Linked DNA regions of Homo sapiens: region 1 is linked to region 2. The links are contacts of gene promoters, found by promoter capture Hi-C in blood cells and fetal thymus (Javierre and others, 2016). All regions are on one chromosome and are shown on one strand. The core of a region is centred on a gene start or on the middle of the fragment in contact, and the rest is flanking DNA. Distances in the headings are between cores, read along the strand shown. Region 1 has its middle 37 kb from the start of LYZL1. Region 2 holds the start of C10orf126 (chromosome 10 open reading frame 126).

Region 1 (5,287 bases), core at 862-3,361, 410 kb after region 2:
TGTGATCCCCAGTGTTGGAGGAGGGGCCTGGTGGGAGGTGTTTGGGTCATGGGGTGGGGGCAGATCCCTCATGAATGGCTTGGTGCACTCCATGGTAATGAGTGAGTTCTTGCTCTGTTAGTTCACATGAAATATGATTGTTAAAAATATTCTGGCACCTCCTCCTCTCTCTTGCTCCCTCTCTCACTATGTGACACACCTGCTTCCCTTCTACCATGAGTAAAAGCTTCCTGAGGCTTCACTGGAAGCTGAGCAGATGCCGATACCATACGGCCTCCAGACCTATGAGCCAAATAAACCTCTTGTCTTTATAAATTACCAAGCCTCAGGTATTCCTTTATAACCATGCAAAACAGACAACCACAGGTCTCAAATATCATTTCATTTTGGGGGCTTACTTTGTGGTCCCAGTAACATGAAAGTGTCCCTAGTAAAAGGGAAAAATGAGCAGATGGACTTGTTTTAGTGGGACAGCTAGTTCCAAGCAGCTTTTGAGAGGAGGGAGGAAAGGGAGGGAGAGGTTGGAATGCGTGGAAAGGAAGAAGCCTAATTAAAAGCCCTTTGTATTTGAACTTGGGAGAAGGGTGCTCTAAAGTGAGCCAACAGGGTAAGTTTCCCCTCCTCCCAACTTGGCTGAGCATTAACCCTGCAAGTGGCTTTCAAAAATGTTTATGAGGCTGAGATTTTTCCATTCACTGTGACACCTACCACATCCTAAACAACATGATATGTTGTCATGATCTCACTTGATTCACCAACCATCCTATGAGACAAATGTTAATGGCCCATTCTCTGGCTTAGGACATGCAACCTGGGCAGGAACACTGGTTTGTCCAATGTGGTGCACGTGGTGAATTAGGCAGCCTGTCCTCCCACACAGCACAGCACAGTGACACTGGACACACCCAAAGGCCAAGGGCCATCTGGTCCAGAGTGATGCAAAAAGTGATCCCAGGCACCCTCCAGCATCAGCCCCAGTCATCATCCCCCAAGAAGGGGCGACAAGGAAGGCTCGGTTCTTATCCCCACTCTCATCAAGCTTTCATGGTCCCCGCTGAAAATAAAAAAGCAAGTTGCTAGCATTGGATGCCCTGAAATCAATAGCAAAAGAAAAGAGACCCTCTCTGTCTGCCAAGGAGCTGCAGCCAAGCCTCCTCCTCTGTCCTTCCTTCCACACCAGTCATGCCCCTGAATGGAAACCTGGACTAAAGTCTATGTCACTACACCCTCTGCAAATGTCCAAAGCTGCCTGCAGAGGCAGGGTTCCTCGTGAAGTTCCATGTTGGAAAACTCCCATTTGGGGGAGCAGTGTTAGACCCAGTTGAGCCACTTATAAGCTGTTGCATCAGGTATTTGATTAATATATGTTCTGCTTTAATCAGTAAACAACTTACATTTGTGTAGTACTTTAGAGTTAACAAAGGAGTTTTATTCCTCACCCCATTATATCCTCAAACAGTGATGACCATCAATATCCTGATTTTATAATTGAGGAAGCCAAGAGGTGGAATGGGCAGCCTTGTATCACCTATTCGAAAAGTGTCAAGGTCAAAATGGGAATCCACATATGCTGGCTTTTAAAAATTATTACTAGATTTTTCAAACATAAGAAGAGTAGAGAAAATAGATCATGCTCTCTCATGCCCATCACCTAGCTTGAATAGTTATTCATCGGTTTCCAGATTTACTTCGTCTATTTTTGTTTTGTCAGGATTGCTTTCCAGACATCCTATTATTTCACCCCCATGCATCTCTAAATGTAAGAACACCCATGCCTTCTGGCTGCAAAGCCCATGCTCTGCTCACTACTTCATAATGTCCCCGGGGAACTCACTGGCTTCACCTGCACCTGCTGGGGAGGGAAAAGCTGGATGAGATGAACTCTGAGGCCCTTCCTGTTCTGAAATTTCTGGATTCTGGTTTTTGTAACCAAAGCAACATTCACCACAATGGCTTCTGTGTGCTGTTCTCACCTCACCTTTTGTAGTCATTCCCCCTCCCATTGTTGACTCTAAGACTTTAGAGCTCATCAGCAGGTGAGCAGAGAAGCAAAGTTGGGGTGATTGACAGAAATCAGATCAGAGTTACCTGGTATAAAGAGACTGAGCACATCCTTCAGGTGTCGACAAAGTGGGATCCCCAAAACAGTTTGGAAAAGAATGGATGTGAAAAATTACAAACACACTACTGAAGTCATTATCTAAAGAAAATAAGAGCTTGATTGCTCTTTATTGTATTTATTGTATATTTTTATCTTGAATTTCTAGGAGCACCATAACACTTGCAGTATCTAGAGCCTCTAAAGGACCATCCTAGCTTCCATCAGTATAAAGAATTGAGAATTAACCAAGTCACTGATTAAGAAAATGGAATTCCAGCAGTGTGGTCAGGTCGAATTAAAGACCCTAGGTGTTCAGAAATTGGAGGAAGGATGTTCTAAGGCAAGCAGACAAAATAAGTTTCCCCTCCTGACAACTTGGCAGGGCATCAACCTTGCAAGTGGTTTTTTAAAGGTTTATGGAGCTTAGATGTTTCCATGTGCTGTGACACCTATCACATCATAAACAATGTGATGCACTGCCGTGATCTCACTTGATTCACCAACCATTCTAGAAGACAGGTATTAACAACCCCAAGTTGTGGATTAGAACATTCAGGTTGGATATGGTGGCTCATGCTTGTAATCCCAACATTTTGGGAGGCCAAGGTGGGAGGATCACTGGAGGCCAGAAGTTTGAGACCAGCTTGGGCAATATGGCAAGACCCCATCTTTACAAAGAGTAAGACAATTAGCTAGTTGTGGTGATGTGTGCCTGTAATCCCAGCTGTTGGGGAGGCTGAGGCAGGAGGATTGCTTGAGCCCAGGAAGTCAAAGTTACAATGAGATACGATCACACCACTGCATTTCAGCCTGGGCAACAGAGAAAGACTCTCTCTCTCTCTCTCTCAAAATAATAGTAACACTAATAAAGGCATTCAGCCTGAGAGATCAGTTGAATTCCAGAATATCCTGGGTATGTGTTGGGAATAGGGAAACTCAAGTGTGAGTATCAGGTGTTGTCACAGTTGCAAGACGGTAGCTAAGCCTGACTTGATCCTTACAGTCCCTGAGGCAAGTCCTCTGTCTGGGAAGCCACCTCAGTACCTCTATCCATCCTTACTACCTTTGGCAGGAGCATCTAAGAAGCTTCATTCATCCTGTGTGGGTACACTTGGGGCACTGCCCTTAGGGGCTTTGACCCAGAGTCCCCACGTCCAGGGCAGGGGCAAATTGAAAGCTCAGCTCAGTGCCTTGGCTGGCTGGGCTGGAAAGCGTGCTGCAAGCCTGAGCCTATTCCAGCCAATGGACTTTATACCACGCAGAGAATCCATACCAGACGCTGTCTTGAAGAATCCAGTCCCAGGGAGCAGTTTATTGATCTGGCAGATGATTAAAAGACAGCAGAGATGAGCTCAAGTGTTGCTTTGGTTTTTCCATCCTGAGAGTGAATCTGACATCTCCTTGGGGGATCATCAGCCCCGTCTGCTGCAGAAGAAGCAGATGACTCCTCCGTGCAGCCGAAGGTCACAGGAATGTTCGAGTCAACGTCTTCTGGCTCAATTCTGTTCGCAGCGAGACACCCAGGGGAGCGTCACGTTCGCCCCAGGTCTGGAGCATGCCAACGCCTTGCTCCAGATCATGTCTGTGCCAAGAGAAGTCCATGTGCATTCATCCCACAGGCTCGCCCTCTCCTCTCTCCTTATGGGATAAAGAGAATGATCACAGCACAGCCTGTAACGTTTTATGGCTGCTCAAAGAGAAAAGGGGGAAAAATAGCTTGCATACGTTGCAAAGAGAGCAGACCATTTTCAGCAATAGGGAAAAGGGATGGAATTTGGGCTGAAGTCAGCTGGAGTTGTCATTTGAAATAGACATCTCTGCTGTCAACCCTTGGATGACCTAAGCTGTGCAGCAGATGACTTGGACTTGTCACTAAGTAGATATGCTGTGGTTTTAGGAGAAATTACAGCAGGTGAAATGCTCAGGCAGCAGATTATTTACAAGCTGTTTCTAATGCGGGAGTTTCTACAGCAAGTGGTTTCATGGACAAAAGTATATATTAAATGGCTCGTGTAATTGCCCACATTGGCAGTGAAATATAACCGGGTTGGATTTCAGCAGGACACCTATAGCAATGAAGCATGCTTCAATCTGATTAAAAAGTGAACAGCTCCTTACTGGGACAAATTATACACTGCCCAGGCCAGCAAGAGGAGAACCTGAATAGCAAATGAATCTTGACAATTAGCTTCTTCAAAGCAAACTTCCCATTCATCCACTTCCACAGCTTCTGACACCCCTTTGGAGTGAGACGTGTATGTTCTCCTATAAGTCACAGCACACCAGCTCAGAGTTACCAAAGCTGATTCTGCTTTGGAAACCTTGAACAAAAAGAAGAAAAAGGAGAATATAAGGAGAAAGAAAGGGAGAAGGAGGAGGAGAAGGAGGAAGAAGGGGAGAAGGGGGAGAAGGAGGAGGAAGAATAGAAGGAAAAGAAGAAGGAGGAGAAAGAGAACAGGAGGAGGAGGAAGAGGAGGAGAGGGAGAAGAGGAGGAGGAGAACAGGAGAAGGAAAACAGGAGGAGGAGAACAGGAGGAGGAGGAAGAGGAGGAGGAGGATGGGGAGGAGGAGGAGGCAGCTCAAGAGCCTGCCATTCCTCAGTTCTTTTTCATAGAAAAACAGAAGGAATAAGAGAGAAGAAGAGGGAGAAGAGGAAGACCTTAAATCCCCTTCTTTCCTTAAAAATTTCTGCAAAACTTGGCCTGCAGTAAATATGCTCTGTCCCAGAAAAGCTCTGATCCACACAGTTAGATTGGCTGCACGGAAGGGAACTTCCCCAGACATTTTTATGGGGACCAGAGGATAGATAAGCTCCCTGCATGCTCCCCACCCCCAACTTCCCCAACCCTTGCACTGCTGGTTTTTGTCAAAGATAGTTGTAGTTACAGCTCATTAATCATCCGTCACCCAGACAGACTCTGACAAGAATGCTGATAGCATCAGGGCCCCCAGGGAGCAGACCACAGAGGCAGGACGAGGGGTGGGGGTGACGTTCTCTCCAGCCTGGCCCAAAAGGCCACCAGCCCCAGAGCCTGCCATTTCTCAGCTCTTTTTCACAGACTGAAAGCTCATGCCTGACTCAAGCTCAGATCAACTGGGCGAGATCGCAGACAATGGGTTCTTTGCCACCTGAATAGTAACAGCACTCCCAGGCCATCTAAAAGGTCGGCGTAATTAAAACAACCA
Region 2 (5,474 bases), core at 2,671-5,170:
TAGACAAATTCCTATTATTGAGTCATGGCTTTGGTTTACTCATCAGATCTCCAGCACAGGACCCTGAAGTCTCTATCTTGTGCCTATCACTTTGTGGGTTTTGTTTCTCTAGCGTGCTAGAGAAAGCGTTTTTGATTCAAATCAGCATAAACTGCTGCTAGGAAAGAAAGCGTCCCTTCTTTATTTGCAGTTTGGTAGCCAGGGTGCTTGCTGATTTAGCCTCATGCAGAATATATAATCCCTTCCTTTGTTCTTAATACATTTGCTGTGCCTCAATAATGAAAATTTCTACTTTATATTTATAGTAATCTGTTTATTTGCCCTCTTCCCCTACTATATATATATATGTGTGTATATATATGTGTATATATATGTGTATATATATATGTGTATATATATATGTGTGTGTATATATATGTGTGTATATATATGTATATATATGTGTATATATATATGTGTGTGTATATATATATATATATTTTTTTTTTTTAGACAAGAGTCTCTCTCTGTTGCCTAGGCTGGAGTGCAGTGGTGAGATCTCAGTTCACTGCAACCTCCACCTCCTGGATTCAAACAATTCTCCTGCTTCAGCCTCCTGAGTAGCTGGGATTACAGGTACCCGCCACCACACCTGGCTAATTTTTGTATTTTTAGTAGAGACGGGGTTTCACCGTGTTGGCGAGGCTGGTCTCGAACTCCTGACCTCAAGTGATCTGCCCTCCTCAGCCTTCCAAAGTGCTGGGTTTACAGGCCTGAGCCACTGTGCCTGGCCTCCCTCTACTATATTCTAGCATCTTCAGGATGACATAATTTCTCATTCCATTTAAAATCTTCCATAGTATAACCACAATACTTTACACACAGTAGGCTCTTGAAAAATTCTGTTGAATCAAAAAATGGATTAAAAATGATTGCTTCATACTAGTAGACTTTCTTCCTTATTAGTAATTTTAAAAGACGGTCACCCTGTTTTGATGCCTTATCACATTGGAAAGGGTGCATTAACAGAAAGAGGCCCCTATTCCTCAGTGGCTGGGGTTCAGAGAGTCCAGATGCTTCTTCTCCATTCTGATTAGGTCATATTTTATTCTGAACATAACCCACTTTGAACTGACATTCAAAAGCCCCTTCTCTCTTCCATTTCTGCCCTTTTTCTCCTTGCCCATCTATCCTTCCTTCATATTGCTGCAGCTTCTTGTGGTTGAGACCTGTTCTTGTCTCTATCGATAGATTCTTGCAGTCTTCAAATTGGAGCCTAAAAAAAAAAGACTGCACTTTTTTTTGTTGTCGTTATTGCCATGGTAATCTGCAACACAACAGCTTCTGTATTATCGTGCTCAATGACTCTATCTCTACCAAGAAGAGGATGAAAGGAATTCAATATAAACATAATCAATAATAAACATAATAATAAAGTAAATTATATAGACTGTCAGAAGATAATAAATGCCATGCTGTCCAAAATGAAAGAAATAACAAAGAAAAGGAAGAGTGTAGGGCAGGATAAAGGAATAGTGTGTTTGAGGAAGGAGCTAAAGTTGTGAGTTTAAATAGGATGATGAGAACTGGCTTATGACAATATGAGATCATGAGATTTGAATAAAGTCTTAGACAGGGAGAGGAAGTGAGCCGTGTGGATCTTTGACGGCATGATGTTCAGGCTGAGGAAAGGAAGGAGCCTGGAGGTTGACTGAGGAGCAGAAGGGAATTGCTGTGCTGGAGCTGGGATGGTAGGAGCTGAGACTAGAGAGGTCACAGAAGCCTGAATCACATGGAATAGATGATAAGGGGCAAGGTATAGGAGCAGGGGGGCCTTTCAGGAGGCCAGAGCAGTCCTCCAGATGGTATTGGGATCAGAACAAGAGCAGTAAAGGCAGCCTCCAGGAGGCTAGAGCAGTCCTCCAGATGGTATTGGGATCAGAATAAGAGCAGCAAAGGCAGTGAGAAGTTGTCAGAATCTGGATGTGTTTTGAAGAAAGAGACAAGGGATATTCTTGATGAATTGGATGTAGGATAGGGGAGAAAGAGAGGAGTCAAGGATGAATCCAAGAAGTGTTCTGTTTTAGGCCACAAGGACGAAATTGTCATCAACTAACTAACATGGGGAAGGTTGTGGGTACAGTGGGATAGGTAGGGAAAATCAGTTTAGTAGTGGACGTGTGAGTTAGAGAAGTATTTTAGATATTCAAGTGAAAATGATGAGTACGCTATTGGATATGCAGGTTTGGAGTTCAGGACAGAGGACTGGACTGGAGATATTCATTTGGGAGTTATCAGTGTGTGGGTAGTATTTAAAGCCATGGAACCACATGAGATCTCCAACGGAGTAAGTAGAGACAGAGATGAAAACAACAGCAACGACTGAGCCCCAGAGTAATTAGAAGTTAAAAGGGGCTAAGGACTGCAATGAATGTGCATGACAAGATCCATGTATTGCCATCAAAGTGAGTGACTGTTTCTAGGAGGGTAGAGGTCAAGATGCCTGAAGGAGGAGAGAAGTTTAATGACCTATGATGGTGGAGTTTTGGAAAGATTATTATCTATGCATTGAACATGCTCAGAAAAGAGAGGAGAAGTATTGGGGAGGATGCCAATGGGCTGAGAACTGATGTTGTTGAAAAAGGTGGTGAACAATGTTGGGCAGGGGTATTACAGGACCAACATGTTTGTATGCCTGTTGTGCAGAAACAGACCAATACACCAAGACAGCAGGCTTTGCAGCAGAGAGAGGGTTTGATGACAGCAGGGAGGCCGAGTGAGCAGATGGGAGAAGACCCTCAAATCCATCTCCCCGAAGAGTTCTAGGCTGAGGTTTTCAAGGGGATTATGGGGGGTGAGGGGCTGAAAAACTATAGTCATTGATTGGTTGGGGAAAGGGGGATGAAATCATCAGGATGTAGAAACTGCATTCTTCAGTGAGTCAGCTTCTCGTGGGGTCCTTCAGACCAGCTGGCGTCAGTAGTTTCATCAGTATGCATGACCTACAAGAATATCTCAAATGGAAAGCAACATTTCACAATGTTCAGTTGTTATCTGTGGAGCAGTGAAGGGGGACTCTAATCTTGTGACAGGGTCTGTGTGATTCTGGAGCAATAGGTAGCAAAACACTATGAGGAAGGATCAGAGAACAGCTGACCCCATGACTAACACTGAGTATGTGCAAGCTTGGCTTATTTTTGTTTCTCTCCCTCCCTTCTCTTCTGATTAATTGTATAAAGTTTCTAGGGACAGTTTCAGGGGTGATAGATGATGATGGTACGAGATTTGCAGTAGAAGGGAAGGAGAAGGTTCTGGAAGGGGAAAAGAGGACCAGCAGGGTCCCTCCATCACCTCCAGGTCTGCAGGAGGTGGCAGGAGGGCCTGGAATGAAAAACAGCCAGTGGCTGGGCGCAGTGGCTCACGCCTGTAATCCCAGCACTTTGGGGGGCTGAGACGGGCAGATCACGAGGTCAAGAGATTGAGACCATCCTGGTCAACATGGTGAAACCCCGTCTCCACTAAAAATACAAAAATTAGCTGGGTGTGGTGGTGTGTGCCTGTAATCCCAGCTACTTGGGAGGCTGAGGTAGGAGAACCACTTGAACCCGGGAGGTGGAGGTTGCAGTGAGCTGAGACCGCACCACTGCACTCCAGCCTGGCTACAGAGGGAGACTCCATCTCAAAAAAAGAAAAAGAAAAACAGCCAGCGCATGAGAGAAGATGTGAGCATCGTCCTCAGGGAAGAGTCAGTTTTTGTCAGAACAAGGAGGGACTATTTGGAAGTTAGTTTGGGATGTGAGGCGTTTTGCTATTAGTGGATCAGGCTGATGGCACCGTGGAGGGGTTTCAGGAGTCAAGAACAGGTGGGAGAAAGTTTCCCAGTGCAGGTTGTGCAAGCCTCCTGGCCCGGAGAGTGTGGGTGTGACGAGTGGCTTGAGAGACAGGGATGAAGAGCATGAATGCGAATGTACAGCACTGAGCTCGCGTCTGCCACATGGTAAGCTCTTAGAAGACCTCAGCTTCTTATTCATTTTGTCACAAATCGATTAATTACTGAGCTGAAGGACATATTAGAAAACGGTCAATAGCAATACTTCTAACTTCCAATCTGTACTTACGCTTGGCATTCAATCGATGTTATCAAAACCTGTGCCAGCTCCAAGGAAGAGAGAACACTGTTTTCTGATTTAGTTGCTTCCTGAAAGGAGCTGAGAGCTGTAAAACACAGGCAAGATTGGACTTTTCAATAATGCTTATATATTGACTTGCAGAAACAATATTAGAACTTTTTTAAAATGCACACATTATCTCCTTAGGGTAAGGGAAAAGGTTTTACCTTTTTATTTTTGCATCTCCCCTTTGAGTGAACATCATTCTTTTTTCTTTAACTCACAACTTTACAAGGTATTTGGAGAAATATAAGGGAGAGATAGTTTCTGTTTCTCACCTCTTTAAGCAATGTCCTCTTGTATACCAAATAATATCTTCCTGTGGTTAATGATATGAGAAACAGAATGCCTCTCCAGAAACCTTTTCACATCCCAGATTCAGAGTTCCTGAGGCCAGAATCTGATCTGACATATTTTACTACTTAGGTAAATCCTTAATCTCAAGAGTGATGAGAGTGAAGTCTTTTTATGTTTGTTTTTTAGAGATGGGCCTCTTTCTGTCGCCCAGGCTGGAGTGCAATGGTGTGATCATAGCTCACTGCAGCCTCAACCTCCTGAGCTCAAATAGTCCTCCTGCCTCAGCTTCCTGAGTTGCGACTACAGCCATGAACCACTGCATCCAGTTCAGGTTTTTTGTTTGTTTGTTGTTTTCCTTAAAAAACACTAGTGATTCTATTTTGATTCTGACAACTTTCATAAGGTCCAGGGACAAAATAAATGTGTTATCTCTTGGGAGGAGATGGATTTATAAGCCCATGGGCACCATTCAGAGGCCATATGCCCTGGAAGCACTGAGGAATGTGCTCAAAGCAAACCCTTGGGTCATCCTTGACTCTTCTTTTGCTCTCACATCCACATCCAATCTATGAGGAAATTAACTTAGCTCAGGTAGTTTAAAAATCCATCTGAATGTTGCGGCCAGGCATGGTGGCTCATGCCTGGAGTCCCAACTACTCAGGAGGTTGAGGCGGGAGGATTGCTTGAGCGCAGGAGCTCGAGGCTGCAGTGAGCTATGATCATGCCACTGCACTCCAGCCTGGGCAACAGAGCAAGGCTCAGGCTGGTCTTGAACTCCTGGCCTTTAGTGATCCTCTTGCCTTGTCCTCCCAAAGTGTTGGGATTACAGGCACGGGCCACTGAGCCCTGCCTAAAACGTTCAATGTCAGTGACTTGGAAGAATGTTCTGGTGGACGGGAAAGCCCCGGATGGAGAGAGGATTCAGGCATTTGAGAGGTCAGAGAGAAGCAAGGTATCCAAGGACAATGGAATTGGCTGCTTGTTGCTCAATTGAATTGAGGCTCTACATTAGGATAATGAAAAGCTGTA

The links. The method cuts DNA at HindIII sites, captures the fragments that hold promoters and counts their contacts. A CHiCAGO score of 5 or more calls a contact.
Region 1: a contact is called between a fragment that was not itself captured here and the fragment with the promoter of C10orf126 in region 2, in 1 of 17 cell types (endothelial precursors). The highest score is 5.4, in endothelial precursors.

What each region holds. Positions count from the first base shown.
Region 1 is chr10:29,249,712-29,254,998 of GRCh38, forward strand. No RefSeq gene overlaps it. Among named protein-coding and RNA genes, the nearest start is that of LYZL1, 37 kb to the right of the region's middle. The HindIII fragment of the contact is 2,148 bases long and covers 1,038-3,185 here.
Region 2 is chr10:28,842,488-28,847,961 of GRCh38, forward strand. It overlaps C10orf126 (chromosome 10 open reading frame 126), which reads left to right and starts at 3,921. Exons shown (of 5, transcript NR_164114.1): 1 at 3,921-3,976; 2 at 4,632-4,776. The HindIII fragment of the contact is 7,202 bases long and covers 3,163-5,474 here.